Linked DNA regions of Homo sapiens: regions 1, 2 and 3 are each linked to region 4. The links are contacts of gene promoters, found by promoter capture Hi-C in blood cells and fetal thymus (Javierre and others, 2016). All regions are on one chromosome and are shown on one strand. The core of a region is centred on a gene start or on the middle of the fragment in contact, and the rest is flanking DNA. Distances in the headings are between cores, read along the strand shown.

The links. Contacts are between HindIII fragments. The CHiCAGO score rates a contact against its expected background, and 5 or more counts as called.
Region 1: a contact is called between a fragment that was not itself captured here and the fragment with the promoter of SLC23A1 in region 4, in 1 of 17 cell types (naive CD8 T cells). The highest score is 5.7, in naive CD8 T cells.
Region 2: the fragment with the promoter of REEP2 here is called in contact with the fragment with the promoter of SLC23A1 in region 4 in 4 of 17 cell types (monocytes, fetal thymus, activated CD4 T cells and 1 more); the score reaches 6.6 in monocytes.
Region 3: a contact is called between the fragment with the promoter of EGR1 here and the fragment with the promoter of SLC23A1 in region 4, in 4 of 17 cell types (fetal thymus, activated CD4 T cells, monocytes and 1 more). The highest score is 7.6, in fetal thymus.

Annotation. Positions count from the first base shown.
Region 1 is chr5:138,510,459-138,517,198 of GRCh38, reverse strand. ETF1 (eukaryotic translation termination factor 1) reads left to right here. Exons shown (of 11, transcript NM_004730.4): 5 at 3,493-3,631; 6 at 4,245-4,435; 7 at 5,595-5,724; 8 at 5,999-6,154; 9 at 6,570-6,634. Among named protein-coding and RNA genes, the nearest start is that of ETF1, 29 kb to the left of the region's middle. The HindIII fragment of the contact is 182 bases long and covers 3,273-3,454 here.
Region 2 is chr5:138,433,421-138,440,653 of GRCh38, reverse strand. REEP2 (receptor accessory protein 2) reads right to left here and starts at 1,597. Exons shown (of 8, transcript NM_001271803.2): 1 at 1,414-1,597. The coding sequence starts at 1,445. KDM3B (lysine demethylase 3B) reads right to left here. Exons shown (of 24, transcript NM_016604.4): 24 at 3,627-5,034. The coding sequence ends at 4,954. RefSeq lists an enhancer at 431-964 and a silencer at 1,350-1,769. The HindIII fragment of the contact is 657 bases long and covers 1,336-1,992 here.
Region 3 is chr5:138,463,206-138,470,625 of GRCh38, reverse strand. It overlaps EGR1 (early growth response 1), which reads right to left and starts at 5,147. Exons shown (of 2, transcript NM_001964.3): 1 at 4,558-5,147; 2 at 1,323-3,869. The coding sequence starts at 4,864. The coding sequence ends at 2,545. RefSeq lists silencers at 852-1,146, 4,894-5,103, 5,194-5,543, 5,554-5,953, 6,274-6,543 and enhancers at 4,409-5,248, 5,249-6,089, 5,162-6,361. The HindIII fragment of the contact is 6,642 bases long and covers 917-7,420 here.
Region 4 is chr5:139,380,744-139,387,765 of GRCh38, reverse strand. SLC23A1 (solute carrier family 23 member 1) reads left to right here and starts at 4,469. Exons shown (of 15, transcript NM_005847.5): 1 at 4,469-4,548; 2 at 5,161-5,274; 3 at 5,717-5,874; 4 at 6,880-6,968. The coding sequence starts at 4,513. MZB1 (marginal zone B and B1 cell specific protein) reads left to right here. Exons shown (of 4, transcript NM_016459.4): 4 at 1-299. The coding sequence ends at 1. RefSeq lists enhancers at 1,029-1,148, 3,049-3,218, 3,599-3,768, 3,789-3,858, 5,459-5,508 and 1 more and a silencer at 5,109-5,168. The HindIII fragment of the contact is 5,308 bases long and covers 2,931-7,022 here.

The DNA.
Region 1 (6,740 bases), core at 2,114-4,613, 870 kb after region 4:
TGGTGTTTAAACACATTGGTCAGGCTGGTCTCAGACTCCTGACCTCGTGATCCACCCACCTTAGCCTCCCAAAGTACTAGGATTACAGGCATGAGCAACCCCGCCCAGCCTGGACATTTTATATAATGGAATCATATAGTTTGTGGCCTTTTGTGACTGGCTTCTTTTACTTTATACTTTTAAGGTTCCATGTGGTAGCATTCATCAGTACATTTCATCCCTTTTGATTACCAAGTAGTATTCCATTGTATACCTATATGCCATATTTCATATTTTATATAGCTTCTCGTTTCATCAGTTTTACATTTGAGTGGTTTGCACTGTTTGGCTGTTCTGAATAATGCTGCTGTGAACATTCATGGACAAGTTTCTATGTGACCATACATTTTCATGTTTCTTAGATTTGTGGAATCGTGTAGGTTATATAGTAATTATGTTTAACTTTTTAAGAAGTTGCTAGACTGTTTTCCAAACCGTTGTACCATTTTACAAAGCTGTCTGTTTTCAAAAAGTAAGGCAATTTACATTTATTATGACACTAGTCATTCAGCATGTTTTGAGACAGAGTCTCACACTGTCGCCCAGGCTAGAGTGCAGTGGTGCAATCTTGGCCCACTGCAACCTCCATCTCCATGGTTCAAGCGATTCTTGTGCCTCAAGCCTCCTGAATAACTGGGATTACAGGTGTGCACCACCATGCCTGGCTAATTTTTTGTGTTTTTTTAGTAGAGACAGAGTTTTGCCATGTTGGCCAGGCCTGTCCCAAACTCCTGGCCTCAAGTGATCTGCTCGCTTCAGCCTCCCAAAGTGTGTGTGTGTGTGTGTGTTTTGATTTTTGTGGGTACATAGTAGGTGTATATGGGGTACATGAGATGTTTTGATACAGGCATGCAATGTGAGCTATCACACTATGGAAAATAGGGTACCCATTTCCTCAAGCGTATATCCATTGTGTTACAAGCAGTCCAGTTATACTCTTTGAGTTATTGCACTCAGTTTTCACATAACAATTGTAAAATTTTTAGTAGCAGAACTGTAAGAACTCATTTTCCCCCCTTTCCCCTGAAACTTTTGAGTGACAAAGCTGCCATAGGATGAACTTGAACAGTGGAAAGGAAACCTCATTAGAGTGACCTAAATCAGTCAACAGTAGAACAATCAAGAATTCACAGCTGGCTCCTTAGTTCATTCTCTTGCCTTTCATCAACCTAGGGAAAAACCTCTACAGTGGAATTAGAACTGACATTTGTCGACAGTTTACAGTGGATGATTTTTGCTAACTTGATGGGAAGTCCATTTATAGTTGGATCTTGGTCGACTGCATAGACAATCCAGACTGTTTTTCTCTTCACTACCACACTCTACTTACAGCAGAGGGTTTTTCAGGGAGCCTCTCAGCCACTGAAACCACTTACCTGTATCTGGTTGGATGAAAGCCGATTTTGAATCTTGTTGATTTAAACAGTGCCAGGTACCCATGTTGTCTGGCTTTTGCTCACTTACTGAGTTAGCCTTGTTGGCTTTTTTCCAAACCTTAACTCCTTTTCTAAGATACTGTTTAATCTTGCTAACTTTGTACATTTTAGCTTTAACTGAGAGGGTTATATCCTGTTTATCAGGGTAATTATATATTCTAATAAGGGATATGCCTATTCCCTGATAAGCAGATTTATTAAAAACTTCAATCTACCTAACGGGTCATTTTGATAAGGCTATATTATTAACGTGCAATATTCATATTCATGTCTTTTTTCTTTTTCTTTTTCTTTTTTCTGAGATTGAGTTTTGCTCTGTTGCCCAGGCTGGAGTGCAATGGCACGATCTCGGCTCCTTGCAACTTCCACCTCCCGAATTCAAGTGATTGTCCTGCCTCAGCCTCCTGAGTAGCTGGGATTACAAGTGTGCACCACCACGCCCAACTAATTTTTGTATTTTTAGTAGATGAGATTTCACCATGTTGGCTAGGCTGGTCTGAAACTCCTGACCTCGAGTGATCCACCCACCTTGGCCTCTCAAAGTGCCATTGCAGGCATGAGCCACCACGCCCGGCCACAATATTCATGTCTTAATGCCAACTATCTAGCATGGTTTGTTAAAGATGGATTCTTAGTTGATCCATCTGCTTTCTAGTCAATTATTGAAGGGGCTATTTTCTTAAAATGGAATGGTAAGGCCAGGTGTTGTGGCTCACACCTATGTAATCCCAGCACTTTGGGAGGCCAAAGAGGAGGATCAGTTTATAAAAATAAAATGGAATGGGTAACAATTTCTTACTTCCAAAGAGATTGTCCCCTGGCAATTAGAGATCAACTAAGTGTGTAGTATTCCGATTCCACTGTGAGAACTCTTATCTATGTATGTCCCAGGACTGTTTCAATATTTTCTCTTTGGGAAGGCATAAAGGGATATAAAGTTAACATAGAAGGAAGGTTTTCCTCATAAAACTCAGAATCATTAGCTGCAATACCTTTAAAGACATGCTGGCTCATGCCTGTAACCCCGGCACTTTGGGAGGCTAAGGCAGAAGGATCATTTGAGTCCAAGACTTCGAGGCTGCAGTGAGCTATGATGGCTACTGCACTCCAGCCTGGCCAGCAAAGTGAGACCCTGTCTCAAAAAAAAAAAAAAAAGGAACAAGTTAAAGTTTTTTTGTTTTTTGAGACAAGGTCTCTGGATCACCCAGGCTGGAGTACACTGGCACAATCTTGGCTCACTGCAACCTACACCTCCCAGACTAAAGCCTTTCCAAGTAGCTGGTAGGGACTACAGGCACGTGTCACCACAGCCACCTAATTTTTGTATTTTTTTGTAGAGACAGTGTTTCGCTATGTTGCCCAGGCCAGTCTCAAACTCCTGAGCTCAAGCCATCTGCCTGCCACAGCCTCCCATAGTGCTGGGATTACATGTGTGAGCCATCATACCCAGCTTAGAACTCTATATTATAAAACTGAAACTGTATCCATTGAGCAATAATTCCTTGTTCCCCCTTTTTTCCAGCCCCTGGCAACCACCATTTGACTTTTTGTCTCTGATTTTGATTACTCCAGGAACCTCATATAAGTGGAGTCATACAGTATTTGTCCTTTTTTGACAGGGTTATTTCACTTAGCATGTATTCAAGTTTCATCCCTGTTGTAGTGTGTTTCAAAATTTTCTTCCTTTTTGAGATTGAGTAGTATTAACTGCTGTATGTAATATTGCTATAAACATGGGCATACAGATATCTTTCTGGTTTTATATTTACATGCCCATGTCAAATGTGTTGAAAAGCTTCACATAGATATCATTCGTTATTTCCTTATTGGGTTCAAATTTGTCCATAAGAGTTACATGTTTATAACTGAAGTCTATAAATTATTCCGTAGAAGGTTTTCCCACAGTGCTAATAGCATGGTGAGTGGAGTGAAAGGGCTTGTATATATCCTTTCAGAGTTTTTTTGACCTTAGCAAAGCTTTGGGATTCACCGTGTGGTACTTGTGTTTGCTTTTCAGGCTCTTACAGCACTACTTTCAGATGATAGCAAGTTTGGATTCATTGTAATAGATGGTAGTGGTGCACTTTTTGGCACACTCCAAGGAAACACAAGAGAAGTCCTGCACAAATTCACTGTGGATCTCCCAAAGAAACACGGTAATACAGGAGGAGAACATGAACCCACTTACTTTGTGTCTAGCAATAAGAAAACAGTATGGTGGGCCGGGTGCGGTGGCTCACGCCTGTAATCCCAGCACTTTGGGAGGCCGAGCCGGGTGGATCACGAAGTCAGAAGTTCGAGACCAGCCCGGCCCTGTCTCTACTAAAAATACAAAAATGTGACGGGCGCCTGTAATCCCAGCTACTTGTGAGGCTGAGGCAGGAGAATTGCTTGAACCCGGGAGACGGAGGTTGCATTGAGCCAAGATTGCGCCACTGCACTCCAGTCTGGGCGACAGAGTGAGACTCTGTCTCAAAAAAGAGAGAGAGAGAAAACAGTATGATGTGAGGGGAGTGAATCCAGATGATGGGGAGAGAAGCCTCCTGTAATGACTGGTGCCTCATTGGTACTTACAGCTCCTCTCTTGACATAGACTTAGTAGTCGCTCTCTGAAAACAAGTAGCAGTTTATGCTGAACGTTTAGTTAAGGGAATGGTGATTTTTCTTTGTCCTTTTCTTAGATGATGACATGATTATTTTATTTTTAATTTGAAGACATCTTGTAGTTCTTAATAATTGCCTTTTTCTCTTGCTACTTTTGTGTCAAAGGTAGAGGAGGTCAGTCAGCCTTGCGTTTTGCCCGTTTAAGAATGGAAAAGCGACATAACTATGTTCGGAAAGTAGCAGAGACTGCTGTGCAGCTGTTTATTTCTGGGGACAAAGTGAATGTGGCTGGTCTAGTTTTAGCTGGATCCGCTGACTTTAAAACTGAACTAAGTCAATCTGATATGTTTGATCAGGTAAGTAAGAAGTAGATGCTTTATTATGTAAGACCCTAGGTAGGAGTAGGTGAGTCCTCTGTGTGAGCACTGGAACAGACACATCTTTTTAAAATTCCTTGGGTTAAAAACTTGCCTCTGAGTTAAACAGCAGGTTTACAGATGTTTATCAGGAAACATTCCCCTGTGCTTTTCTGAACCCCTTCTCTTCTGAAATCAACCATTTTTAGGTGGGCTTCTTATGGATCCTGTGGAGGTTCCTTGTTTAGTTGGGTTGTCAGAATTGGCTGTAGAATGGAGTTTGATTTCAAAGAAACTAAAACCTGTTCCTTATTTTCTTTTTCTGATTTATTCTTGGAGATACATAGCAGCAAAGCTCTCAGCAGTATGACAGCTGATTCAGCCTAAAGCATTTAAAGCACATTTTATAACATGGGCTCAGCCATAATACACTTTCAAGATCTGGAGGAAGTAGCCTTATGGTAGAAGGTCCACCAAAGAAATTGCCTTTAAAAAAAAAAAAAAATATATATATATATATATATATATATATATATATTTTTTTTTTTTTTTTTTTTTTTTTTTTTGAGACTGGGTCTGGCTATCTTGCCTAGGCTGGAGTGCAGTGGCAATCATGGCTCACTGCAGCCTCGATCTCCCAGGCTTAAGTGATCCTCCCAGCTCAGCCTCCCAAGTAGCTGGGACTACAGGGATGTGTCACCATGCCCAACTAATTTTTGTACTTTTTGGTAGAGACAGGGTTTCACCATGTTGCCTAGGCTGGTCTCAGAATTCCTGGACTCAAGCTGTCTGCCTCTCCTAGCTTCCCAAAGTGCTGGGATTATAGGTGTGAGCCACCCTCCCCAGCCCGTCTTAACCTCTACTACCTTATTTGGCAGGAGCCAGTGGTCCCCCCTTTCCTCCACAATAACTTATTTTTGTTTGCACTTAATGAGTTGTCCTATAGTAGGTCTAATAAAATGTGTGATATAATTGGCAGTGCTGTTCACTTTAAGAGCAGCTTTTGATTAAATTGGGCTCCTTCCCCATATTTAGACTTCAGTGATCATAATGCTGAGCTTTGCATACCATTAAGAGTTAGTGGGTTTGAGTAAAGGTGTTTTAATAATATTTTAAATAAGTACCAGTAAGTACTAATAATATTTTTTTTGTGTGTTAGAGGTTACAATCAAAAGTTTTAAAATTAGTTGATATATCCTATGGTGGTGAAAATGGATTCAACCAAGCTATTGAGTTATCTACTGAAGTCCTCTCCAACGTGAAATTCATTCAAGAGAAGAAATTAATAGGTATCGGTGAAATGCAACTACTTATTCTGTGAAATGTTTTCGTGTGTGTGTGTGTGTGTGTGTGTGTGTGTATGTGTGTGTGTGTATGTACGTGATTGTATGTATGAGACAAGGTACCAAAAATGTAAAAAGGAATATTTAGTATTTTTATTAACTCTTTTGCCTCAGTAAAAGCATTATTTTTTATCTTCTTTAGTCATTAGGTCGAATAGGTGTGTTTGTATCTACTAGGGAAACTTTAATATATATCCTGTTGACTGATCCCTAATCGTAGGACGATACTTTGATGAAATCAGCCAGGACACGGGCAAGTACTGTTTTGGCGTTGAAGATACACTAAAGGCTTTGGAAATGGGAGCTGTAGAAATTCTAATAGTCTATGAAAATCTGGATATAATGAGATATGTTCTTCATTGCCAAGGCACAGAAGGTATGAGAATTAGAAAATAAGGTTGCTATTTGTTACTGAGCCAGGAAGCCTGGGGTGGAGATTTGGGAGGGATGGCTGATTTCAGGAGCAATCAGAAGGTAGATCTACCCATTGTTCCCCAGTCCTTCAGTCTGTAGCACATTCCTGCATAGATTTTTCTGCTTGAACTGTTTAACGTCTGCTTAAGATTGTTACATCTGCTGAGGACCAGGACTATATCTTGAACATCTCTGATGTTCCTTATGGTTGAAGCATTGTACCTAGTAGACACTCAGTGTATGCTAACATGTTTATGGAAAAAATGTTGAGAGATTGAGTCCCTGAGCCCTTTTCTCATCTAACCTCATCTTATGGAGCTTACACAGATTAGTATATGAGAGCCAGGTTAACACATTTTTTCCTCCTAATACTACAGAGGAGAAAATTCTCTATCTAACTCCAGAGCAAGAAAAGGATAAATCTCATTTCACAGACAAAGAGGTATGTGATTATTTTCTTGGTTTGATGATACGTGCAAGCGTAAATCCGTGTGTTAGAGTACTGGCTGTGTAGAGGGTGAGCTTTGGGAAACCAAACCTTATACTAA
Region 2 (7,233 bases), core at 348-2,847, 940 kb after region 4:
TCACACCCATCTGCCCTTACCCTCCACCTCCCTCAGAGCCAGGCTCTGCGAGGGAACCTGACACCACCTAACAGGGCACCCTACCTGGCAGGCAGAGGTACCACTGTGGCCCTGGGGCCCTAGGGAACAGAGGGCACAGGGGCAGGAGGCCCTGAGAGAGGCAAAGAGGCTTATTCCCCCATGTAAACACCACAGGGACAGGGCTCAGGGGAGGGCCCCGCTGGTGATCCAAGTACAGAATGCAGACAAGACACAGGCCGGGAAAGAAGAGGACCGATGCCCTTTGGGGCTTGCCCAGGCAAGAGAGAAGCAGCCACCCTGAAGGCCACATGGAGGCGTGAGGCCCCTCCATTCCCCCTGGGATGGGTGGGGGAAGAGAAGGAGTCTAGAGTAAACCAGGACAGAAGCACTTGGCCGGCCCGGCTGTACCGAATGGGAAGAAGGGAGCAGGGTGGGGCTGCCGGTGTCAGTCCCCAACGGTGGAGGCCGAGGGGCAGTGTCCTCATTAGGGCAGGGGATAGCTCCGAGAACCACGAGGAGCCCCTGTCAGGCTCAGCCCCTTGACAATGTGTGGCTGTCGCCTGTTTCCACATGGACAGGAGGGATACTTCCAAACCGGCTGGTGCAAGTGGAGTGCGGAGCAGAATCCTCAAGGACAAAGTCTGGGCTCGTGGGGAATGGTGTGTGTTCCCTCCTGGGGCCCGGGGAGGTGCCAGAGACACAGCTCCACAGTGTGGCTGGCAGCCTGGAATGAAGGCCACGGAGCGTCCTCCCCCAGCGGGGTCCACAATCCCAGGCTGAGCACACACATCCCCTCTCCCAGTTACCTCTCACACTTTGTCCTCCGAGCATTTCTGCTTCCCGATACCCAGACTTCCTCCCTAGGGGGCCTAAGGGCATATGCCCTCGTCCCCAGTCTCCTGACAGTGAGTGGAAGGGAGAGACCAAGGGGCCTGGTGATGGCTCTGAGCTGCGGAATGATGATGAGGCCCTGCCTTGCTCCACTCTCTTCCATCACCCTGTTACCTCCCCCAGAGGGACAGGGCCCGGGTCTGAGGATCTCCTCCAGCCCAGACCTGCTAGGTGGGGGAGGGGACGCGCCTGCCTCCCCTTTTAAATCAAGCCGTGCTGCTCAGCCTCTAGGATGGGCGCAGGAGCAAGGACGGTAGAAATAAAAGAGGTTATTAATAAAGAATGTGGGTGAGGTCCCTGGGAAGCCAGGCCTGCCACGCTCCCCTAATATTCCCCCCTCCAGTCCTGGGTGCCACATCTCCATGTCTCTGGGGGCCCCAAATAAGGACGCAGCGCCTTTAGGTGACTCTGCTGCACGAAGCTTCGGAGAAGTCCACCCGGGCTTTAACACCCCCGCCCTCCATCACAGCCCGCATCACCCCCCGCCGCCGCCGCACTCACACCACCAGGCGAGAGATGATCCAGGACACCATGGCGGGGCCGGGCGCGGCGCGGGGCGGGGACCCGGCCCGGCCGAGGATGCAGCTGCCTGAGGCCGAGCGGCGGCGGCGGCGGCAGCAGGAGCCGCAGTAGCAGCAGCAGCCGCTGCAGCAGCCGCCGCGGGGGCAGCGGAGCGCCCAGCGCCGCCGTTAAAGGGGAGGTCCCTGCCGCAGCGGCGGGCCGTGGGCGGTGGCGGCTCTTAAAGGGGAGGCCGGGAGGCCGCCGCGGCGGCGGCGGCGCGCCCCCGCCCCGGCACCTGCTGTGGCCGGGCATGCGCCTCCGACCCTCAGTGCCCTGCCTTCCTCGAATCGCTTGTTCATCTTTCTTGGGTTTCAAGCCCTAGGCTGTTGTCGTGGAGGTCTCCATGGTTACATCCTGAAATCGACCCCTGCCCACCTCCTGCCCTGCCCACACCAGGCGCTTACTGTGTGCCAGCCCCTGTGCTAAGAGCTTCACTGCGTTGCCAGTGAATCCTCTTGACCACCCTATAAGGCAGGCGCTATAAAAGCCCTCATTTTGAAGATAAGGGAATGAGAAGCTTAAGGCTCAATAATCTGTTGAGAGTCACAAAGCCACCAAGTCATGCTGCTAAGATGACCCCAGGAAGCCTACTTTAAACAGGTTACATCCCCCAACTGCTGACTAGCAAACTCTCCTCATTACAGGCCCTGAAGACATCCACCTGAGCTCCTGAGTCACAGGTACAGCCGCACCTGTCCACCCCACTCCTTCTCACCCCGTTGAAAGAGGATCTCCCCTGACCAGATGATGTTTTGTTTTTTTGAGACAGGTCCTCACTCTGTCGCTCAGGCTGGAGTGCAGTGGCACAATCTCAGCACACCTCCTGGGCTTGAATGATCCTCCCGCCTCAGCCTCCCGAGTAGCTGGGACTACAGGCCCAAAACACCACCAGCTAATTCCTGTTTTTTTGTTTTTTGTTTTTTTTTGCCAAGATGGGGTTTTGCAATATTGCCCAGGCTGATCTCCAACTCCTGAGCTCAAGCGATCCACCCGCCTCAGCCTCCCAAAGTGCTGGGATCACTGGTGTGAGCCACCGGGCTGCTGGTCTGCTTTTTTAGGTTGTCAGCTCCTAAGCTTTGCAGCGGAACAGAGCTTTATGCTCTCAATGTGGTTACTGACAACAAAGGGTCAACCTTCTTTTCAAACAGAGGGGCTGCGAGAGGGTCCTGGGGCTCCAGTTCCACCCCCATCAGCAAGCACTAGTGGCAGTGAATGTCCTGATTCTAAAGACATTTATATCCAGAATGTAGGCTAGCCTGCCTCCTGATCTTCAGGAAAGCAACCAACCTCCAACCATCCACCAACACCCCCAGCCCTATTGCTCTCCTTTCCTGTCCCATTTTAGAGCTTCTGCATTCCTCTACCCTTTATGTTGAGTTGTAATCCTTCGGGTGACCACAGCATCAACCTGTGCCCATCTGGGCTGAAAGGACACATTCAGAACTGTGTATTTCAAAGAGTCATGGTCTTATTCAAGCTCAGTATCCCTGAACAACACAATGGTCTATTTCTAACCTGGTAAATTATATTTCCAGGTTCAAACACTTTGGAAGATGTTTCCCAAAACGTTCCAGAAAAGCAGCCTCTGATAACCCCTCTTGCTATTCTTTACAACTTCCTCTCCAGAAAACATCTCCTAATTGGAATGCAGTCTGTTATCACCCCACAATGAAACACTTTAATTACTGCTTGATAAATCCCACATGAGTGTCTCCCACCATCTCTAAGGTGGATCTATGGCCACACGTTTCATGTAGGCAGCCAGGCTGCCTGCTTAAGAATCCCACCACAGACTGTCCAACTTTGCTGAGGCCACACACCATGACCCTTCCCCCCAGACTCTGCCACAGGAAGGGAGGACCCCAACTTTCCCACTCCATTCACAAAGCATAAAGTATGGGGAAACATGTCTCTCTTTCTACCCTCTAATTCATGTGGCCCCTTCCCCTTACCCCCAATTCCCCAAACCATACTGACCTCACCCTGGCACTTTCCTTTTTTCTAACATGGCACAGTCTCAACAAGCAAAGAAAAATATCTGGGTGTAGCACAGTCATGAAGACCTGGAAATGAATCCCCCACCTCCAACCCAACTCCCAATCTGATGTTGATTTTAGAAGGGTTGGTACACGAATAATTTAGTCCACTCCAAACAGATTTGTTAGATTTTTAATAAGAACATGGAAATCCCAATCAGCCCTTCAACAAAATTAAAATACAGAAAGTGAAATTAAAAGTATTCTACATTAAATGACTTTTATTTAAAAAAAAAAAAAAAAGTAACTGTGAACATATAAACAGCCTGCAGGGCACTACAGTACAGCTGGAGAGATATACATTTTCCAATGTACCTATGGGCCAATGAATCCCACCATTTTCAAATAAATCCTTAATCAGACTCCACTCAGTTGGAAAGTTTTGCTGAAAATATTTCTGGATAAAAAACAAAAAACCTCATGTTGGAAATCAACTGTCCTTCCCATTTGGAAACATTAAGAGGAGTCCCCAGGGAACACTGGTAATAGGTGAAAATGGTTCCTGGAGTCACCAGTGTTGTACACACACATGGGGAACACACCACAGCTTAGATGTGACAAAGTTCCTTCTCATATGACTGTTCCCTCAAGGTAAGACTAAGATGGGAGGGGGAGAAAAAGAATCCTAAAAAAGCCAATTTTTAAAAATTCTGCTTTGGCTGATTTTGTGCTATAATGGGTAGCTGATTTCTAAAAATCATATTTCTTCAAAGAGTTTTATATCGAAAGGAAGACTAAATGTAATGTGCCTTTCCTTATAATCCAGGAAAACAACTGTGGTATTTCAAAAATTCTAAAAATATCTACTTTCATGAAATAGTAACTATTTCACTACAAACCTATTTTTCACTAAATACACACATTTCCTAATCCTGGAGCCTCCTGGGAAAAGCAGTGGGTTCTCCCTGGGTCTTGCAAGACTCCAGTGTTCACAGGAGAGTGTGGGGAATAGCTTCACCCCGTCTCCTGGGATGGGCTTTGTCAGAGGTCACGTGCAGAGACGCTATCAGACTTCCACCAGGCATGTTTAAGCAATTACCCCATACTTGTACCAGTTATGTGATTTCCCCTATCTCCAAACACATTTCCACTTAACTAGGCACAAGAGGAAAAGAAAAGAAAGGTGTGCCCGTGAATCTCAAATCAGGAGAATGTGCAGGAAAGCCCCGCCATGTTCAGGCAATTTGGATTTCCAAAAGGCCACAGGATAGGGATGTGGCACTCTTGGCTTGGAGTCTCAAACTGTGTGTGTGAACAGTACGACTTTCCTGTGTCAACCTTCAGTGTTGAGGCAGCGTAGAAGAGAGTGGCTGGAGAGTTTGGAATACTGACCACACTGGCTCTGGGTGAAGGGCCTCTGCTCCAGCAAAGAGCCCTGCCGTTCCCTGTTAAGTGTTGTGAGTGAAAGACCTGCTTCACAGAGGAGCTTGGAGTTTCTCCATGCCTAGGACCTTGCCAGTTTGGATTCATGAGCCTTGAGGGTGCCAACCGCATCTTTCACTGCATGGTAAATGATGTTCTTCACCTAGAGAAGGTGTACAGCAAAGTCAGTTCACAGCAGCCCCATGCAAATGTACGTTCTACCTTGACTGTAAGCCTACTGGTTTAGTGGGGAAACTCCCAAAAAGGACTGTGCGTTCCTGTATCAATCCCCACAGTCATTTACAAATCACATAGGGCATGAGGTGTGTACTCAAAAAAGAATAATGAAGTTATGTGAAAGGCCATCTGATCACCATCATTTATGTGCTTACTATGTCCTGGGCAGGCGCTGCTGCTGAGCTCTTTATGTGGACCTTTGCTTAATCCTTGACAGAATCCTATGAGGTAGGTTCTATTATTATCATGCCCAATTTACAGAGGAGAAACTGCGGAAACTAAGGCCACAGTGAACACCTGGAGAACTTTGTTTCCTTATATGGTTAAGAGGCTTCCTTAAGGTTCTACAGCTAATAAGGATGCATTAAAACAAGAGGGGAAAGCAGGATTATGGCCTATTTTTTCCCTTCGTGCTTATATGTTTTCTGATTTGGATATATTACCTGTGAAATTGGAACACACAATAAAAGTTATTGAAAAAAGTGAACAGGCATATTAAGGTGAAGAGAATAAAGACAGCTTTCTTTTAAAGGGCTGACAAGAAAACTGAGGTTATTTCTGGGGAGGAAAAGCGGGGAAATGCAAAGGGGAAGGGTACATGGGGGCTTCAACCATGTAGTTGCTGTATATGTATGTGTGCTATAATTTCTTAAGCTGGGTCATGGGCATCCAAGTCCTTCTTTTACTATTCTCCATTAATTTTTTTGCATTGCTTCAACAAAGATTTATGAATACCTACTATGTGTCAGACATTGTGCTAAGGAAAAGCAGTGAGTAAAATGTAAAATTCCTGCCTTCACAGAGCTTAAATAGCTTACATTCTAGTAGGGTTAAGTAACAGATTAAAAAAATATATCTATATCTGTATCTATAGCTATATCTCAGATGGTGAAAATACTACAGGAAAAATAAAGTAGTGAAAGTGGGACTGGTAGTGCTGGAGCAGGAGTTGTTATTCTAAACAGGGTAGTCAGGAAAGGTCTTTTTTTTTTTTTTTTGAGATGGAGTCTAACACTGTTGCCCACGCTGGAGTGCAGTGGCGCCATCTCAGCTCACTGCAACCTCCGCCTCCTGGGTTCAAGCGATTCTCCAGCCTCAGCCTCCCAAGTAGCTGGGACTACAGGCGCCCACCACCATGCCTGGCTAATTTTTGTATTTTTAGTAGAGACGGGGTTTCGCCATATTGGCCAGGCTGGTCTCGAACTCCTGACCTTGTGATCTGCCCACCTCGGCCTCCCAAAGTGTTGGGATTACAGGCGTGAGCCACCGCGCCCAGCCTGTTGTTTTTAAATAAAGAGACAGAGTCTGTTGCCCAGGCTGGAGTGTAGTGGGGTGATCATAGGTCACGAGAGCTTCAAAACTCCTGGGCTCAAGTAATCCTCCCACCTCAGCCTCCTGAGTGGCTGGGACTGCAGAAACACACCCAACATCCCTAGCTCGGGAAAGGTGTTATGGATAAGGTGACATGTTACCTTTATATTCTCATTCTATGTAAACACCAATGTTGGACGGGCACGGTGACTCACGCCTGTAATCTCAGCATTTTGGGAAGCCGAGGCAGGTGGATCACCTGAGGTCGGGAGTTCAAGACCAGCCTGGCCAACATGGTGAAACCCTGTCTCTACTAAAAATACAAAAATTAGCTCGGTGTGATGACACGTGCCTGTAATCCCCAGATACTCGGGAGGCTGAGGCAGGAGAATCGCTTGAACCCAGGAGGCAGAGGCTGCAGTGAGGCAAGATCACGCCACTGCCCTCCAGCGTGGGCAACGGAGCGGGACTCCATCTCAATAAACAAACACCAACGTTGATTATACTTTGTATAAAAACTATGGTTGGCTGGGTGCAGTGGCTCACTCCTGTAATTCCAGCGCTTTGGGAGGTGGAGGCGGGCAGATCACCTGAGGTCGGGAGTTCGAGACCAGCCTTGCCAAAATGGTGAAACCACGTCTCTACCAAAAAATACAAAAATTATCTGGGTATGGTGGTGCATGCCTGCAATCCCAGCTACATGGGAGGCTGAGGCAGGAGAATCACTTAAACCCAGGAGACGAAGGATGCAGTTGAGCCAAGATCACACCATTGCACTTTCATTTGGGTGACAGAGTGAGACTGTCTCAAAAAA
Region 3 (7,420 bases), core at 3,898-6,397, 920 kb after region 4:
TCGTGGAGTCTGACCAATTCACAAAAGACTTAGATATTGGGGTTGGAGGTAGTGCTTCCACTCAGTAATCCGTCTCATCCACACTGCTGAGTAGACTTGGCCAGTGTCCTCCCTGCCTCACCCACAAACCAAGTCAATCAGGTTGACTCCTGCTTATGCTTCCTAACTCAATTTTTCCACCTTTCCTAAACCCCCAGGTGGGTTGGGTGCCCTTCACTGTGCTCCCAAAGAGCTCCATTCTTGCCCATATTGCATAACACAATACCATGTTGTGATTTGTGTCTTATGTCCGTCTCCCCAACCAACAATCCACATTCCTCCCATGGTGTCTGCTGTGGCCAGGTCAAGGCCTCTCACAGAGTAGGCAGATGCTCACGTGCCCACAGGGATTGCCCCAGCAGTGGGAGTGGTCCCTCAGGGGACTGGGCCCAAAAGAACCTAGAACCTCAGGCCTCCTACACAATGGGAACAGATTTGGCCCGGATGGGAACTTTAGACACCAGGCCAGGCTTCTGCCCACTCTATCCTTTGTCCCACGAAGCTGCCAAGGATGGCAGTTCCAGCTGGCAAGTAATAAGAATTTCTTCCTGGAAGGATTCTTGGCTTGAGAACTGGCCTTTACCTCGTCTAGGCTTCTTTGATGCCCTCAAGTTGCTGGGGACCTGGGGAATGGGAGGGAGAGGCTGAGTCGGCCCCAGCATTGTTACTGTTCCCCTAAAGGCCTTGTGCCTACTTCTTACCTCCTCTAACTGCACATGGCAGGGATTCCCAAGATCATGGGTTTTCCAACCCTGAGTAGAGGTGGGGGACGGGACTGGCCCAACATTTGATGCCAGGAGAGTAACACTGCCTTTGGCCACACATGTCCCAGCCCTAACTCTTGCCTTTCTTGGCTTTAGCTAACCAAGGTAAAGCTTCAGCCCAACAGACTGAAGAGGAACAGGCCCATTATCAAGAAGAACTCCAGCCTGGGCAACATGGCAAAACCCTGTCTCTATAAACATTAACCGAGTGTGGTGGCACGTGCCTATAGTCCCAGCTACTCAGGAGGCTGAGGTGGGAGGATCACTTGAGCCTGAGACACCAAAGCTGCAGTGAACTGTGATTACACTACTGCACTCCAGCCTGGGTGGATAGACCGAGACCCTATTTGAAGACCCATACTCAGTCCTCATAAATAACGAACTCCAGTTTCACACAGTGGGCCTGACTCTGGCTGGAGGATCCTTGTATCTCTAAAGGCCAAGTCTTCAGAAAACCTCACAGCCCTCAATAGGGCAGAGTCCTTCCCCTAACCCAGGAAACACATACCCAATCGCAGCTACTTTATTTTCGTTTTAATTTTTTGGAAGGATATACACCACATATCCCATGGGCAATAAAGCGCATTCAATGTGTTTATAAGCCAAACAGTCACTTTGTTTAAGCAAACACAAGTACAAAGTAAAATAGAACCACAAAATAATGAACTGCATGTTCATAACATACAAAAATCGCCGCCTACTCAGTAGGTAACTACAACATTCCAACTCCTGAATATATTTATAAATTTACATTTTCAGTTAAAAAAATAGACTTTTGAGAGTTCAGATTTTGTTTTAGATTTTGTTTTCTTACATTCTGGAGAACCGAAGCTCAGCTCAGCCCTCTTCCTTATTTTGCTCCCAAAGCCTCCCCCAAATCATCACTCCCTGCCCCCCTTAAGGCTAGAGGTGAGCATGTCCCTCACAATTGCACATGTCAAGCCATCAGCAAGGCGCATCACACAAAAGGCACCAAGACGTGAAACTTTTTAAACCAAAAGGACGAAGAAAAAACACTTTCAAAAAAAAAAAAAAAGAAAAACCAAACCATATTTTGCCACATGTGAGAGTACGGTCAAGCAGTATTTACAAAAAGGTTAACGGAACAACACTCTGACACATGCTCTGAGAATACTGGGACTGCTGTTTCAAAAAAAAAGGTTCAAACTTATTGTCACAGCATCATCACAAAATAGAGGATCACCATTGGTTTGCTTGGCTTTTCTTTTTTTTTTTTCCCCCAAGTGAGGACCTAACTCCAAATAATACAATAGAATATGCAAATTATCTTCACATCAAGAGTACCCCAAGAAAAACGAAATCCATGGCACAGACACTGTACAAGGGTGCAGGGCAGGGCTCTGAGGGGCCCAAACCCCATTTTGCCAACTCGATTTTCTAGCATTGAAGGGAGCAAGGGGTCAGGCATATGATGGAGATGATACTGAAATGATTTATCCAAAATCCATGCAAATCAAGTTCTTTGGATAGAGGTGAAGAACTTGGACATGGCTGTTTCAGGCAGCTGAAGTCAAAGGGAATAGTAATTGGGGAAGGGGAAGTGGGCAGAAAGGATTGTTGGCCAATAGACCTTCCACTCCAGTAGAGAGGGAGGACTTGGCTCTGAGAACCTCCATCTGACCTAAGAGGAACCCTCCTCTCCTATGGCCATCTCCTCCTCCTGTCCTTTAAGTCTCTTGTGTTTCTTTTTCTCCCTTTTCCCTTTCTTTCCCCTTTCCCTTTAGCAAATTTCAATTGTCCTGGGAGAAAAGGTTGCTGTCATGTCCGAAAGCCCTGTGGAGGCGCTGAAGGAGTTGGTGACAGCTGAGGAAGGGAAGCTGCTGACCTGGGCCGGGAAAGCAGGGGGAACAGAGGAGTACGTGGTGGCCACCGACGGGGAGGGGAAGCCACTGTGCACAGGGGATGGGTAGGTCGAGGAGCCGGGAGAGGAGAAGGAGGTGGGCACAGGGGATGGGTATGAGGTGGTGGCCGGGGATGGATAAGAGGTAGTAACCGGGGACGGGTAAGAGGTAGCAACCGGGGACGGGTAGGAAGAGAGAGAGGAGGTGGCCGAAGAGGCCACAACACTTTTGTCTGCTTTCTTGTCCTTCTGCCGCAAGTGGATCTTGGTATGCCTCTTGCGTTCATCGCTCCTGGCAAACTTTCTTCCACAGATGTCGCAGGCGAAGGGCTTTTCGCCTGTGTGGGTGCGGATGTGGGTGGTGAGGTGGTCGCTGCGGCTGAAGTTGCGCATGCAGATGCGGCACTGGAAGGGCTTCTGGCCTGTGTGGATGCGGATGTGGCGGGTGAGCTCGTCGGAGCGGGAGAAGCGGCGATCACAGGACTCCACTGGGCAAGCGTAAGGGCGTTCGTGGGGGGGCGTCTTGCTGGGCCGGTTGGGGTACTTGCGCATGCGGCTGGGTTTGATGAGCTGGGACTGGTAGCTGGTATTGAGGGCCTTCAGGTCCTGGGAGCCCGACTGAGTGGCAAAGGCCTTAATAGTAGACAGAGGGGTTAGCGAAGGCTGCTGGGTGCGGCTCTCCAGGCCCTGGAAGGGCTTCTGGTCTGGGGTGCCCAGGCCCAGATCCCCCTGCTGCTGTGGAAACAGGTAGTCGGGGATCATGGGAACCTGGAAGCCACCCTTGGCGGCAGGGTAGGCAGGAGGCGGGTACTGGAGCGCTGTCCCTGCCGAGCCCGGGAAGGCCTGGCTTTGTGGCTCAGGGAAAATGTCAGTGTTCGGCGTGGGGAAGGTGGGTGCCGCTGAGTAAATGGGACTGCTGTCGTTGGATGGCACTGCGCAGCTCAGGGGTGGGCTCTGGGAGGCGGAGGCGGAGGAGGCCGCTGGAGATGGTGCTGAGGACGAGGAGGCCGGTGGGTTGGTCATGCTCACTAGGCCACTGACCAAGCTGAAGAGGGGCTCGGGCCACAAGGTGTTGCCACTGTTGGGTGCAGGCTCCAGGGAAAAGCGGCCAGTATAGGTGATGGGGGGCAGTCGAGTGGTTTGGCTGGGGTAACTGGTCTCCACCAGCACCTTCTCGTTGTTCAGAGAGATGTCAGGAAAAGACTCTGGCAGGAGAGAGAGAAGCGGGAGGCCTGGTTACTGGAAAGCAATCACTGGAGGACGAGGACGACCCGAGCTGCCAGGCAAGAGACCGGGCCGGCTACCATTGACTCCCGAGGTAGTTAATAATTGATAGCAGCACATTGCAATGTTCCTGGACCCGCACCAGTGGCAGAGCCCATTTCAACAACAGCTGACGCAAATACGGAGAATCCCCCTCCACTGCAGCTCGCAGCGCTCCGCAGCGGCGGCTGTGCGGGCGAGGGATTCCCGCCAGCACCCCCATGGCCGCGGCTAGTGCGCGCCCCCAAACCCGGGCTGCCGGGACATCCACGGCCAAGGATCACGGTCCTTCCTTGGGGACAGGCGGCAAGCAAGGCAAGGCAAGTCTTACTGGAGGTGGGGGGCGCAGCCCCGCTCATCAAAACAAGCCCTCCCCCTCCACCCACCCACGCAGCTCCAGAGCTCTCCATCCAAAACAAAAGCTCGGTCCTCTGCGCTCCGCTAGGGATGAGGGCAGGGGGTGGGCTGTGTGGGGTTCCTTGGCATCCCTCTAACACATGACTCTGGGGATGCGAGGAATGAAAGGGAAACCCGGCTCTCATTCTAAGATCCAGGAGCACTCCTGCGGTGAAGGACAGGACGCCAGGATGGTGGCGAAAGGGTTCCCCCTCGGCGTAGGCCACTGCTTACCTGCGGTCAGGTGCTCGTAGGGCTGCTCGCCCGTGTCCGCCTGAGGGTTGAAGGTGCTGCTGCTGCTGCTGCTGTTGCTGCCGCCCCCGCCGCCTCCACCGCCCCCGCTGCTGCTGCTGCTGCTGTTGCTGCCGCTGCCCTCTGGGGCCCCGGCGGCGCCGAGGAACTGGGGAGCCCCGTTGCTCAGCAGCATCATCTCCTCCAGCTTAGGGTAGTTGTCCATGGTGGGCGAGTGAGGAAAGGATCCGAACGGGTCAGAGATCTGCAGCGGGGACATCAGCTGCATCTCGGCCTTGGCCGCGGCCATCCTGGACGAGCAGGCTGGAGAGCTGGTGTCGGGGCGGGGGGGTGCAGCCCGGGGCTGGAGCTGCAGGGGACACAGTTGCGGGGGCCTGGCCGGGTTACATGCGGGGCGCGGGGAACACTGAGAAGCGTGCAGGCGGCGACCCCGACTCGCCCTGGGCGCGGGCGGGCGTGGACGCGCCGCGGCTGCGGAGGCTGGGGCAGGGGCCGGTCCTGCGGCGGCGGAAGCTGGCTGCGGCGGCGGATGGCGGCGGCGGCTCCCCAAGTTCTGCGCGCTGGGATCTCTCGCGACTCCCCGGATCCGCCTCTATTTGAAGGGTCTGGAACGGCACGGGTCCGCCTCCGTCGTGACGTACATGGCCATATATGGGAAGCAGGAAGCCCTAATATGGCAGGACCGGCCGGGAGGACCCGGAGTGACGTGAAGCCCCCCATCCGACAGCGCCCGGCACCTCCATCCTGCACCCTAGGGCCCGCGCCCGCGCCCGCATCCCAGGCGCCCAGGCTTCGGGGAAGCCTAGAGCTCTAGCCGCCGCCGGGGCCTCCGGGACCCGCGCAGCTCCGGAGTTCCCGCGTTGCCCCTCCCTCCGCCTTCTTCCCTCCTCCCAGAGCCGGAAGCGGCCGGGCCATATCGGGCCACTCCAAATAAGGTGCTGCCCAAATAAGGGTTGTTCCGGCGGGGGATCCTTCCTGCTCCTTATATGGCATTTCCGGGTCGCAGCTGGTTGCTCCCTCGCTCCCTCCCTCCTCCCTGGTTCCAAGCCGGGAGCCCGAGCGCTCGCGGGATCCGGGGACGCCCAGGCGGGGAGGGCTCGTGGCGTGTGGCGCTGGGCGCGCGGCTGCTCAGGCGGCTCCTAGGCGTGAACTAGGCTGGGGAAGCCCAGACCCAGAGCGGGGGCGAGGGCGAGTCGGGCCGGGGTTCTATCGCTGTCATCCAGGGCCCGCCCGCCCACCTCAGGGACCGTGAGAGCGAACCGGGAGTGCGGGGGAGGAGCGGCTGGGCCCGCCTGGGCAGGGGCCGCCCAGGAGAGGCGGGGCCTTGACCCCGGGCCTCGATCTATGGCACGGTGTCTTTCCGGGTGTCGCTGGGAAATTGAGGATAGGAAGTCACGGCCACTTGGTTCTTGGGACACTGTATAGCAGTGAGCTGCCTTGCCTCTGCCACCTGTCGGTGGGATGGGGCTGCTGGTGCCTGGGGTCCCCTGTGCTCCCCCGGAACCGAAAGGCTGTTCCCTAGTCCCCGCCGGCAAAGAGCCCACCTTTGGGGGACCGAAGTGGGGAAGCTGATTGCCCCAAGAGAGGCCTGATTCTTGTTCTCACCAGGAGATAATGGTCCTTGTGGTGAGGGGTCACTTTCCCCCCTTTATCCAGTCCAGGTGGAGGGCCGGCCCACACTGCGGGAATCCGAAAGAGGGGCTTCCCTATGGGCTGTCTGGGGACCCCGGGCTGGGCGCGAAGAGAGGACCGGCTTGGCGGCTCGGTGCTGCCCCCTGGAGGTTCCCTCTCCACTCCCAGCCCCGGACTCCGGCCGCGCGGGCTCTTCCGCCGCCTCCTCGCTCCTCCTCCCGGATGCGGCGCTGGGCGCGGAGCCAGGCCGGGGGAGCCTTCGACGCAGTGAGCACGAACTGAGCAGGCGCTGCAGCCCGGGCTCCCCCTGCAGTCCCTGGGGAGCCGTCACTGCCGAGGCGCCCAGACTCCGGGATAACACTCCTCACCCCGAGCCTGGCCAAGGCGAGGGGGAGAAGGAAGCAGGGGGTGGGTGGTGGCGAGGGAGAACGATTCCCGCAGGTCTCCCTGGGGCCGAACGCGAACAGGGAAGCCCTCCCCGCCCCCACGACGCAGTCAGTTGCTCACCCCAAAGGGAACAGGGATTCCGGGAAGGGAAGGCTCCTCCTGCTCTAGCTCTGAATCCAGAGGAGGTGCTGTTTTTTCTGGATTTAAAAAGAAAGCAGAAAGAGAATGTGGGGAAGGAGGGTGCTTGACGACACCGAGAGGGAAGGGAGGAGGTGAGGGCCTCTGTGAACCCCAACAGCCTCTGGAGGTCGGGGTCAGGGGGATTAGGTGGGGGAGGGTGTAACTTTCTTGGACTTAATCCCTCTGTGGCTGTCCCCCCTCCAAACATGTTTTCTTATAAAAACCAACTTAATGAACCAGGACTCCCTCGTCTCGGAGCCTGCCGTCTCAAGTCCGCTGGGGAGGTGGGGGGCTCACTCCCACTGTCTACCGAGTTGTCCATTGGGGCAGGAGTGATGCGCCTCTCAGAGGACTCCTGCCGCAAGGGCAGGAAGGCCAGGCTGTTGCAGCGCAGATGGCCTTGTGTCTGAATGTCCATTTTGCCACTCCCTGGTAGGGTACCTTAGCCAAATTTTTTTTTTAATGTTTTTATTCTTTCTGAGACGGGGTCTCACGCTGGCACCCAGGTTGGAGTGCAGTGGCGCGAGCTCACTGCAACCTCCGCCTCCCAGGCTCAAGTGATCCTCCAGCCTCCTCCTCTCGAGTAGCTTGGACTACAGGTGCCTGCCACCACGCCTGGCTTTTACTTTTTTTTTTTTTTTTTTTT
Region 4 (7,022 bases), core at 3,220-5,719:
GTCCTGGACTCTACCCTCCTCTGAAAGAAGCTGGGGCTTGCTCTGACGGTCTCCACTCCCGTCTGCAGGCAGCCAGGAGGGCAGGAAGCCCTTGCTCTGTGCTGCCATCCTGCCTCCCTCCTCCAGCCTCAGGGCACTCGGGCCTGGGTGGGAGTCAACGCCTTCCCCTCTGGACTCAAATAAAACCCAGTGACCTCACTTCTTTTCTCTGCAAAAGGTGCTTGTGGGGCTGGGAGTGCAGACATTGGTGTTTCTGCTGATGTCCCTTGTGAAAAAAAAAAAAAAACTCTCAAAATCAATTTTTTTTTTTTGAGACAGTCTCACTCTGTCACCCAGGCTGGAGTGCAGTGTTCTTGGCTCGATGCAACCTCCACCTCCCAGGTTCAGGCGATTCTCCCACCTCAGCCTCCTGAGTAGCTGGGATTACAGGCACCCACCATCATGCCCGGCTAATTTTTGTATTTTTAGTAGAGACGGGATTTCACCATGTTGGCCAGGCTGGTCTTGAACTCCTGACCTCAGGTGATCCGCTCGCCTTGGCTTCCCAAAGTGCTGAGATTACAGGCATGAGCCACCGCGCCCGGCCTTCAAAATGCTTTTTCTATTCTCTCACTCGACAACAGCACAGAAGATGGCTGTGACCGAATGCGTGGGGGCTTTCCCCCACACACCAGGCAAGCAATTCTGCAGCTGACACCAGCTGGGTGCCCTCCAAAATTCAATTCTGGCACTATCTACCTGGAGATAGTGTCAGATCCCACAGGCTGAGGGCTCAGTCCACCATTCTGTCCCCCATTCAGACACCAGTTCCAACTCCAGGCCTCTGGAGCTTCTGGCCTACTGGCTTCAAGATGAGGTTCCCACAACCCCCTCTTTTGAGTTCAACTAATTTGCTAGAGTGGTTCGCAGAGCTCAGAGAAACGTTTACCAGTTTATTATAAAGGATGTTACAAAGGATACAGATGCAGAGATGTGTAGGGCAAGGTATGGGGAATGGGCTCGGAGCTTCCATGCCCTCCATGGATGCAACACCGTCCAGGAACCTCCACGTGTTCAGCTATCCAGAAGATCTCTGAACCCTGCAATTTTGAGTTTCTGTGGATAATTCATTACGTAGGTATGATTCATTAAGCCATTGGCCATTGGCGAACAACTTACCCTCCAACCTGTCTGCCCTCCCTTGACTGGGGATGGGGGGTGAGGGGAGGCTGAAATCCTGCCTTGGTCTCTCTGGTGACCAGCCCCTGTCCTGAAGCTACCCTAGGGGCTGCCAGCCATCAGTCAATCATTAGCACACAAGAAGACATCATTTTGGGGATTCTAAGATTTTAGAAATTGTACTCCAGGAAACAGAGGTCAAAGACCAAATATATATTTCACAATATTACATCCCTCCTACAGAAGGCCAAATTTGCATCCCTACAACTTCCAGAGGTAAGAGGGAGCCATCAATGGTGTGGTGATGTAATCGCCCAAAGGGTTCACCTTGCTCAAGCCTAGACAGAGCCGATTGCTCAAGACAGGGGAATTGCAATAAAGACTAATTAACGCAGAGCTGGCTGTGCAGGAGACCAGCGTTTTACTATTACTCAAATCAGTCTCCCCAAGCATTCAGGGAGCAGAGTTTTTAAGGACAACTTGGTGGATGGCGGGGAAGCCAGTGAGCCAGGAGTGCTGATTGGTCAGGACTGAAATCATAGGGAGTTGAAGCTGTCTCCTTGCCTTGAGTCAGTTCCTAGGTGGAGGCCACAAGTCCCAACGAGCCAATTTATGGATCTGGGTGATGCCAGCTGATCTATCAAGTGCAGGGTCTGCAAAGTATCTCAAGCACTGATCTTAGGAGCAGTTTAGAGAGGGTCAGAATCTTGTAACCTCTAGCTGCATGACTCCTAAACCAAAATTTCTCATCTTGTGGCTAATGTTGCTCCATCCTACAAAGGCAATCTAGTCCTCAGGCAAGAAGGAGGTCTGCTTTGAGAAAGGGCTGTTATTGTCTTTGTTTTAGACTATAAACTAAAAACTAAGTTTCTCCCAAGGTTAGTTCAGCCTACACTCAGGAATGAAGAAAGACAACTTGGAGGTTAGAAGCAAGATGGAACTGATTAAGTTAGATCTCTTTCACTGTCTCAGTCATAATTTTGCAAAGGTGGTTTCAGTGACATCCCAGGTCTTCAGAGCCTTCATGAGAAAAGAGAACCAAGGAAAACTGTGCACGCAGGCCACCTTGTGGCACACCTATTCCAGCCACTCCATGCTATCTGCACCCCTCCGAGAACACACGTCTCACTGGGTCTACACCCAATGGCTGTTCATTTTCCACACTCTGCCTTTGACCCCAGCTGGTATGGATGGGCCCTGGGTTTCTGACCAGCCAGATTCAACATTTTGGTTCTCAGTCCTGCTTTCTCTGGAAATTCTTCTGGCTGGGGCTTTTCCTTAGTAAAGAAGCCCTGGACCCCACCTAGGTCTGGGAACTGGAGATCGGTGGCACCAGAACTTTCAGTTTCGTTTGTGAGTGTCTCTGATCTGGCCAAGCCCTGGGAGAGAGACAGAACATTCTAACCCTCATTTTTAGAAATATTTTTATTTTGCACGAGAGCCATGTGCAGGAAGACAATCTAATCCCCCTTTGACAGATGCAGAAACCGAAACTTAGACAACAGAAGGGGTTTGGGCCAAGTCCCTGGCTGAGTAGTAGTAGGGCTGGGAGGGGATTCAGACTTAGGGGACCGGAGAGGCGGGCTGCTGGGGGAATGGAGGTGCCTGGGGCAGGCCCTGGCCACTCCAGCTTCCCTGGGAGCTGCACTCAGCCCCCTCCATCCTTCACCTGTTCCAGGACCTGCCTGAAGCCCCACCATCCGTGGCCTTCACTCAGGAGAGAAACCCTAGACACCAGGAGGAAAGTCAGGGCCCAAGAAACCCACTAAGCTTTCAGGACAGGGTGTGGAGCCGGGCACCCATGACGTGGACCTGTGTTTCTGTGGGGTGATTAGAGAGGCTGCATCAGCTCTGGGTGTGTGGGCCCCTTCATGCTACTGTGGATCTGGGACCGTGTTCTCCACCTTGTTCTCTATGCGTGTTGTGTGGTTTGGGTTGAATTGAGTGTCCATGGAGCCGTATCTGCAGGGGGTCGGGCTTGGTCTCCACAGCACCCTGGGGAGTTCTGGGAGGAGAAGTTGGAGAGAAAAGTGCTGGGGAGTTGCAGAGGCTTCAAACTGGTCCAGCAACTTTGGAAATTGGGAGCAGTAGCCAAGAGGGAGAGGAGAGGACAGGCGGACAGAGGAACAGTGTGGACACCGGCAGGCGGGCGGACTCAGTGCTGTGGCATGAAGCTGCTGCCCAGCTGGAGAGCGGTGCTGCCCCTTGGCCCTTCAGGCAGGGCCTGGCCATGGGCACAGCGACCCAGAAGTAGGTGGGCTCTAGAGTGCTGGGGCTGGGGCAGCCCAGAGGGGAACAGAATGGGGACCTCAGGCCCAGCCCTCACCAGCTGAGGAGCCTGAGTTCTTAGGGCCCCTCCCCATGTCCCCCTCTGCCATCTCAGGCCCTAGGGCCAGGCTGGGCTGGGCCTGCCAGGAGGGGAGACAGGCTGGGCATAGGACTGCCTTCCTGGGCTAGGTGATGGGCAGTCACACAGGGCTTGGTGCATAGAAAGGCCCCACGCTCCATCTAATGCTCCTGCTATCTTTAAATTCTTTATACTTTTGGAATAAAGGCCTCACATTCTTACTTTGCACTGGGTCCCAGAAATTATGTGGCTGGGAGGGGAAAGGGATCTGTGCCCTGACACAGAGTGCAGACCCGGCTGGGCCAGCCTAGGCAGCTCTGCCTGCAGAGGCCCATCTGCTGCCTGCCTCAGGGACCCTGAGGGGTGCAGGGTGGTGAGGGCAAGGCAGCTCAGACCAACCTGAATTTTAGGATTGGTTTCTGCAAACTTGCTATCTGCATGGCTTGGGTCAAATCACATCTACTGAATCTGTTTCCTTCGCTGTTAAAGGGGTTAATACCGCCCAGCACAGGGGTTACTTGGGACAGTGCAGATCCATGTTTCTTGGCACAAGGCCAAGGCCATTCCTCAATAACGAGAATGACTATGATGATGATGATAATGATGAACTAGTTATTAATCAGTGGGGAAGGGCCTCATACAGGGGGTTACATAATAAGTGCCTGTTTCCACTCCCTCTTTCTCCGCTCACCTGGGGCTTGGTAAACTTCTGGTCCTCACCCCCTCGACTCTGGCCCTCTCTTGGGAAACAAGAACAGGTCCAGCGCCCAGGCGCAGATGTGGGCAGGGAAGGGCACATGTGGCAGAGGCTTGGGTGGCTTTTACTGTCCTAGTGAGAGTTAATACATTACCTCTGCCCGGGCCCCCCTTTCGCAATCCAGAGCTGGGCATCTGGTTACAGATTTACTTCAAACAATGCCTGATATGTGGAGTAAAGTCCTCCTCCTTGGCCTTTGTCAAGTCATCCCCTCTTCTCCTCAGGAACTGCTCAAACCTGTGCCCCAAAGATGAGGGCCCAGGAGGACCTCGAGGGCCGGACACAGGTGCTGGGGGCTGGGGGTGGGGGCTAGGGGGGGCAGGGGGGGTGGGGGGCTGGAGGGCCTGTGCAGGCCTTCTTCCTGGAGGCCAGAGATAAACGTTCTGATGAACTTGATAAGAGTGACTGTCCCAAATTGAATGTGGCAACTGGGGGATGGGTGGAGGTGGGGGTGAAGGAGCCTGCAGCTTTGGGACTGGCTGACTCCAGGTTGGGGTTCAGGAGAGGCCTAATCTCCCGGCCAGTGACACCCCAAGGATCTCCAGGGGGCAGAGGTGGGACCGGATTGGACTTGTCCACAGTCTTGAGCCCTCTTGGCCCCCTCTCCTGTGGTCTCCAAGACTTCTGACTTAAGGGTCCACTTCCCTGGCTAAAATGGCAGGTCCTGAGGGCTCTAGAAGCTGGCACAGTAGACTCATCCCTGCGGGAAGCAATGCAAAGTGGGAGAAAACTGTGGCCAGGCCAAGTGGCACCCGGGTGGATGGACTGTTGGGGAGGGCGGGAACCCCGCTCTCAGTTGCTGACAAGCCACTTGGGCTGCCTGATTGATTCTGGGGCAGAATGGATTTTGCCTGTCCCCATCACTTCACCCTAAGCTACTTATCTCTGCTGCCTCCAGCATGAAACCACCAGGGACCCCTCGACCCCGCTACCCACAGAGCCTAAGTTTGACATGTTGTACAAGATCGAGGACGTGCCACCTTGGTACCTGTGCATCCTGCTGGGCTTCCAGGTGGGTCCCCCAGGGCCTCCCCGCCCTCACTCTGCACACTCCCCGGGGACTCCAGCCCCTCCCTGGCCAGCAGGGAGTATCTTGGGTAACAGGAAGAAAAACCTGAGGTCAGCACAGTGGCTGTCAGCAAGCAGGAGTCGGGAAGAGGCTGAATCCTGAAAGAAGATGAACTCCCTGGGGGAGTGTGACGCTTGCCAGGTGGGGTGTTGGTGACAGGGAGCAGAGCCGACTCCACGGAAGCCGCAGGAATATCTTGAGTGGAAATTAGTGACCCCCAGAGTGGTCAGCAGTAGCTCTCTGGGAATCCCTTGTGGGGACTGCCAGTCCTGGGCAGGCAGCCGGTTCCAGGCCCGCTGAGGCAGGCATGAGGACACTAGGTTGTCCCCTCTCCCTGGAGCTCTGGGGTCCTGCCTCATGCACTCTGCTGTCTCCCTCTGCCCAGCACTACCTGACATGCTTCAGTGGTACCATCGCCGTGCCCTTCCTGCTGGCTGAGGCGCTGTGTGTGGGCCACGACCAGCACATGGTTAGTCAGCTCATCGGCACCATCTTCACGTGCGTGGGCATCACCACTCTCATCCAGACCACCGTGGGCATCCGGTGAGCCGCCCAGCCCCCCAACCCGTCCCCCGCCACCCCTCCACTGTGATCCACACAGCAGGAGCAGGTGGGCTCCCAGAGGACACTGGTGAGACAAAAAAGCCGCTTTCTGCCTCCACCTGCTTCTCCTATCCCAGGCCAGCCTTAGAGCTGGGCAGCGTGGCCCCAACCCTGGGAATCTTGATCTAGGCACACTTCAAAGACCAGGCATCTGCAAGTTTAAGGGATTGTACCCTCGCTGGCTCTCCCCTCTTTTTTTTTTTTTTTTTTTTTTTTTGGAGACGGAGTTTTGCTCTTGTTGCCTAGGCTGGATTGCGGTGGCGTGATCTCGGCTCACCACAACCACCACCTCCCGGGTTCAAGCGATTCTCCCGCGTTCAAGCGATTCTCCCACCTTAGCCTCCTGAGTAGCTGGGATTACAGGCATGCGCCACCATGCCCGGCTAATTTTGTATTTGTATCTGCCCACCTTGGCCTCCCAAAGTGCTGGGATTACAGGCGTGAGCCACCAAGCCTAGCCGGCTCTCCCCTCTTAAACCCCATTCTGAATATTGCCCAGATGGCAGCCCTGAGCTAGCTCCCAGGGTTGGTGCCAGCCTCTTCGACAGCCCACCCTCCCAGGGCCCCACGCTCCCGAGTGCACAGCCCTAGGCCTGGGTGGCATTTGAGCTGTTTGAGCAGCGGGGGACAGGGGAAGATTGTGAGAGAAACCTGGATGCGGGAACTGAGGTGTCCACTTCCGGGCAGGTGCCCCCTCCTCACAGTGCAGGAGCTGGTGGTGGGAAGGGGGCAGGTTTTGAGCTGGGGGCTCCATTTGTTTTCTTCCTTGGGCAGCCAAAATGTTAGAGATGGTCTTCCCTGGGGCCTCAACGATTTCCATCTGCCCTTGTCCCTTGTGTCTCTGTCACTCTCTCTGTGCTCTCCCTTCCTGATCTCTCCCCGCATCTTTATCCCTCCTCCCCACCCGCCCCTCCCCACCCCTGTTGCTTTGTGCCTCTCCTCCAGGCTGCCGCTGTTCCAGGCCAGTGCCTTTGCATTTCTGGTTCCAGCCAAAGCCATACTGGCTCTGGAGAGATGGAAATGCCCCCCGGAAGGTGGGTACACTTCTGGGGTCTGCACTGGGGAAAAGGGGAGGCCCAGAGACCTGG